Regions from separate parts of the Homo sapiens genome. Here region 1 is linked to region 2. The links are contacts of gene promoters, found by promoter capture Hi-C in human tissues and cell types (Jung and others, 2019). All regions are on one chromosome and are shown on one strand. Each heading gives the region's core, a stretch centred on a gene start or on the middle of the fragment in contact. The rest is flanking DNA. Distances are from core to core; before and after follow the strand shown.

What was found. Contacts are between HindIII fragments. The study calls those that stand out against the background at their distance.
Region 1: a contact is called between a fragment that was not itself captured here and the fragment with the promoter of CPO in region 2, in 2 of the 25 tissues and cell types used here (bladder and hippocampus).

What each region holds. Positions count from the first base shown.
Region 1 is chr2:206,898,040-206,900,908 of GRCh38, reverse strand. No RefSeq gene overlaps it. Among named protein-coding and RNA genes, the nearest start is that of CPO, 40 kb to the left of the region's middle. The HindIII fragment of the contact is 3,919 bases long and covers 1-2,869 here.
Region 2 is chr2:206,937,746-206,940,777 of GRCh38, reverse strand. CPO (carboxypeptidase O) reads right to left here and starts at 1,260. Exons shown (of 9, transcript NM_173077.3): 1 at 1,111-1,260. The coding sequence starts at 1,178. The HindIII fragment of the contact is 12,088 bases long and covers 1-3,032 here.

The sequences.
Region 1 (2,869 bases), core at 168-2,667, 40 kb after region 2:
CTTCTACCACTGTTATCAACATAGTACTGGAACTCCTAACTAGAGCAATTTGACAAGAGAAAGAAATAAAGGGCATCCAGACTGGAAAAGAAGAAGTCAAATTTTGCTTGTTTTCAGATGACATGGCTTATTTTTGGAAAAAACTAAAGAGTACCCTGAAAATCTATTACAGTGGATAAACAAATTCAGTAAAGTTGCAGGACACAAAATCAACATACAAAAATCAGTAACATTTCTATGTGCCAACAGTGAACAATTAGAAAAAAGAAATCAAGAAAGTAATCCCATTTATAGTGGCTACAAATAAAACAAGACACCTAGGAATATACTTAACTAAAGAAGTGAAAGATCTCTACAATGAAAATGTAAAACATGATGCAAGAAATTTAAGAGGACACCAAAAAGAAAAGGAAAGATATTCCATGATCATGGGTTGGAAGAATCAATATTGTTAAAATGGCTATACTACCTAAAGCAATCTACAGAATCAATGCAATTCCTATGAAAATACCAATGACATTCTTCACAGAAATAGAAAAGGTAATGCTGGCCCTCCTCCCAAGATGGCCAAACAGGAACAGCTACCAGTGATATCGATGTAGAAGACGGACGATTTCTGCATTTCCAACTGAGGTACCTGGTTCATCTCATTGGGACTGGTTGGACAGTGGGTGCAGCCCACAGAGGGTGAGCCAAAGCAGGGCAGGGCATTGCCTCACCCGGGAAGTGCAAGGGGTAGGGGGATTTCCCTTTCCTAGCCAAGGGAGGCCATGAGTGACTGTACCTGGAGGAGTGGTACACTCCTGCCCAAATACTGTGTTTTTCCCATGGTCTTCACAACTGGCAGACCAGGAGATCCCCTCCCATGCCTGGCTCAGCAGGTACCACACCCACGGAGCCTTGCTCACTGCTAGTGCAGCAGTCTGAGATCGATCTGGGATGCTGGAGCTTGGCAGGGGGAGGGGTGGCCACCATTGCTGAGGCTTGAGTAGGTGGTTCTATGCTCACAGTGTAAACAAAGCAGCAGGGAAGCTCTATCTGGGTGGAGCCCACCGTAGCTCAGCAAGGCCTACTGCCTCTCTAGATTCCACCTCTGGGGGCAGGACATACCTGAACAAAAGGCAGCAGACAGCTTCTACAGACTTAAACATCCTTGCCTGACAGCTCTGAAGAGAGCAGTGGTTCTCCCAGTACAGCATTCAAACTCCGATAATGGACAGACTGCATCCTCAAGTGGGTCCCTGACCCCCGTGTAGCCTGACTGGGAGACACCTCCCAGTAGGGGCTGACAGACACCTCATAGGTGGCTGCCCCTCTGGGATGAAGCTTCCAGAGAAAGGATCAGGCAGCAATATTTGCTGTTCTGCAGCATCTGCTGGTGACACCCAGGGTCTGGAGTGGACCTCCAGCAAACTCCAACAGATCTGCAGCTGAGGGGCCCATATGTCAGAAGGAAAACTAACAAACAGAAAAGAATAGCATCAATATCAACAAAAAGGACATCCACACCAAACCCCATCCTTAGGTCACCAACATCAAAGACCAAAGGTAGATAAAACCACAAAGATGGGGAGAAACCAGAGCAGAAAGGCTGAAAATTCCAAACACCAGAATGCCTCTTCTCCTCCAAAGGAACACAACTCCTCACCAGCAAGGGAACAAAACTGAATGGAGAATGAGTTTGACGAACTGACAGAAGTAGGCTTCAGAAGGTCGGGAATAACAAACTTCTCCAACTAAAGGAGCATATTCTAACCCATTGCAAGGAAGCCAAAAACCTTGAAAAAAGGTTAGATGAATGGCTAACTAGAATAATCAGTGTAGAGAAGAGCTTAAATGACCTGATGAGCTGAAAACCACAGTATGAGAACTTCGTAAAGCATACACAAGTTTCAGTAGCCAATTTGATCAAGCAGAAGAAAGGATATCAGTGATTGAAGATCAAAATAATGAAATAAAGTGAGATGACAAGATTGGAGAAAAAAGAGTAAAAAGAAATGAACAAAGCCTCCAAGAAATATGGGACTATGTGAAAAGATCAAATCTACGTTTGATTGGTGTACCTGAAAGTGACGGGGAGAATGGAACCAAGTGAGAAAACACTCTTCAGGATATTATCCAGAAAAACTTCCCCAACCTAGCAAGGCAGGCCAACATTCAAATTCAGGAAATACAGAGAACACCATAAACATACTCCTCGAGAAGATCAACCCCAAGACATAATTGTCAGATTCACCAAGGTTGAAATGAAGGAAAAAGTGTTAAGGGCAGCCAGAAAGAAAGGTCGAGTTACCCACAAAGGGAAGCCCATCAGACTAACAGTGGATCTCTCTCGGCAGAAACCCACAAGCCAGAAGAGAGTGGGGGCCAATGTTCAACATTCTTAAAGAAAAGAATTTTTAACCCAGAATTTCATATCCAGCCAAACTAAGCTTCATAAGTAAAGGAGAAATAAAATCCTTTACAGACAAGCAAATGCTGAGAGATTTTGTCACCTCCAGGCGTGCCTTACAAGAGCTCCTGAAGGAAGCATTAAATATGGATAGGAACAACCGGTACCAGCCACTGCAAAAACATACCAAATTGTAAAGACCACTGACACTATGAAGAAATTGCATTAATTAATGGGTGAAATAACCAGCTAGCATCATGATGACAGCACCAAATTCACACATAACAATGTTAACCTTCAATGTAAATGGGCTAAATGCCCCAATTAAAAGACACAGAATGGCAAATTGGATAATGAGTCAAGACCCATTGGTGTGCTGTATTCAGGAGACCCATCTCTCTCACATGCAAAGACACACATAGGCTCAAAATAAAGGGATGGAGGAAGATCTACCAAGCAAATGGAAAGCAAAAAAAA
Region 2 (3,032 bases), core at 11-2,510:
AAGATTTCTTTAACCATGAAGCAAAAGAGGAAATACCAATTATAACCACATATACTTCATGAGATATGCTAAATGAGCAAAATAATGATTTGCATATGAACAAGGGAAAAACACACTTTATATGGAAACTATACACACACACATACACACACACAGATTTCAATAGAATGTATTTAGAGAACTTATGATTCATTAAGAGTAGGGAGAGACCACAAAAATGGGCAAATGACATTAATGGGCAATTTATAAAATGATAAAATTAGTAATAAAATATTTACTCTTATAAATCAACAAAATACAAAGGAAGTCAACAATGTGTATTTTTTACTTGTCAATTTGCCAAACACTTAAAAAGTGCTTTCATACACTGTTATTGGAAGTGTAGACTGATGTAATCTTTCTAGAGGGTAATTGGGCAATGTGTAGCAAGATCCTTACATTTTCCTCAGTTACTGACCCAGTAATTCCACTTCTTAGAGAAATAATTAAAGATTTGCAAAAAGCAAAAAAAATTATGTAGCTGGTTGCTCATCACAGCATTATTTGTAAAAATGAAAAAGCAGGAATTGACTAAATGACAGAATATTATTAGCAATTTCAACTGTTTTAAATAAATTGCTAATGCCATAGGAAAATTTCTGTAATACAATTTAAGTGAAATATTTCAGAAATAGTGCTGCATACATAATCAGGTAGCTATCTGAAAACATTAATAGTACTTATCTCTAGGTGAAATTATTTGGTCATTTTAACATTTTTCTTAATAATTAGGATAATGTGATTTACCAAATGAGATACTATGAAAATGAAGGATATAGAATTTGTATTACAATTTTCTTTTTCCAATCACAAAACATGACATGTCTATTTGTATATCTCATGCATTGTGTTAGGAAATGTTTGCTAGATATTTATTCATTTATTCAAGGATTATTAGAGGATTATGATTATTCAGTGATAAATTTCAGTGGTCTTTATTATTCTCATCTCATGGTGGTATATATGAGTAGCAAGGAAGGAGAAGCCAGCTGCATTGGTCTTAAAAAGAAACCATTCAATTTAGACAATCTAAATTATAATAATCAGTTCCTCTTCCCACTTTACACTCACCTATCATATCCCAGCCCTCCAGGAACCAGCATCCCCAAAAGATAAAGGGTTTCAAGCAGAGGCTTCATTCTGCCACACAGTAAGTTAGAAAATTCTGGGCCTCTCTGGCAGTGGATCAAGTGTCCTTGAGAATGAATGCATCAAGACTGTGGCTCCCACAATCAAGATGAGATAAATCAGTTAGTGGATGTCTCAGCAGAAAGTCACGGGCAATTGCTTTATTAACTCTCTCATGTCCTCAAACACCTTTTCCAGTGTGGGAAATGCTGTACCATTTGATATTTCATTTCTTCTCTAAAACCAAATTTACGTGAGCTCTCAACTTCACCAGATCCTGAAATAAATTTCCTCCCTATGTAAAGTCACCTTGGAGTATTTCTAGGAACCCCCATCACTCGTGCTCAGGAGCAATCATTCCTGCTCTTCCCCTCACACAGGTTGAATGGGAATAGTAGGCTAGTCTTTGTGAATCATGAGCCTGTTCATGAGACCAGAAAGAACACTCTGCTCTGGTCAAAATGGACATGGTCATTATTCAGAATCTCCACTTCCTCCTTCAATCTAAGGCTTTGATTGGGGTCAAATGCCTTCTCTTTTTCTGATGAACCACATCACCAGCTTCTTAAACAAACCCAGATCTCTTCAAATCTGAGCAGTGAAGACAGTTTCAATCCTTTCCCATGTGGATTTTACCCCACGCCCCTCTTACATGAAGGACTCTGTCAGATACTCCGCCATGTTTTCAGACATAGCCAAGTTATGCTTGAATCTCATTGACCAGTAAAATTAAAGACTCATGTTAAGACCATTGCTAATAGTCTAACTGAGCAAGGCAAACTTTAGCGCAGAGCAGGTAGAGTATTTAAATGGAGTCCTTGGCATTTAGGGACCCAGTTTAAATCTTCTGCCCTGTATTCATGTATTCATTCTACAAAAATCTCATGAGTACCACTGTATACCAGACACTATGCTAGATACTTAAGATACAAGGGTGAACAAGGCAGAGTCCCTTCTTTTATGGAACTCACAGTAGAGTTGAGAGAAAAATAAACGAGTATACAAACAAATGTTACAGTTTCAAGTAAAGAGAATGCAGTTAAAAAACTAGAGGAGATAAGCGCTTCCATGCTGTCTCCAGGCATGCCATCCACCCAGTCCCTCCATGTGTTTAGCAACCCAGAGGCTCTCCAAACTCTGTTCCCTTGTGTTTTTATGAAGACTTCATTACATAGGTATGATTGATCATATCATTGGTCATTGGTGATTAAATAAATCTCCAGTCCCTCTTTCCTCCCCAGAGATGGGAGGGGATTACTGAATAACATGGCTGATTCTCCTGGCAACCAGCCGCTATCCTTAGAAACTTTCCAAAAGTTACCTGTTCACTTAAACTTAGACATAGTCAAAAGGGACGTCATGAATAACAAAAATGGCCCTTTCACCTTTATTGATCTTATCACTGAGGAAATTCCAAGGGTTTTAGGAGCTCTGTGTCAGGAACCAGGGACAAAGACAAAATATGTATTTCCTATTGTATCACAATATCACGATGGTGTTTAAAGCCACTGGGCTAGAGGAGTTCATCTAGGGTGTGGGTATAGACAGAGAAAGACAAAGACTGAGACCTGGGCTGACCTAACATTTAGAGGACTTGGTAGAAGAGAAGAATCCAGCGAGGGAATTGTGAAGAACAGCCAGTGAGGTAGTTAAAAAATGGGTGACTATTGTGTCCCAGAAGCCAAATGAGGAAAGCATTAAAAACAAAAAAAATGGGAGTTACCCACTGGTCAAACGAGGACGAAGAACTAACCAATCATAACCAGCAGGATAGAGGCTCCTGGAGACCTTGAAAAGAGCAATTTCAGTAGATAACGTGGTGGGGACAAACGCCTGCCTGGAGCTGGTTAAAGAAGGAAAGGGAA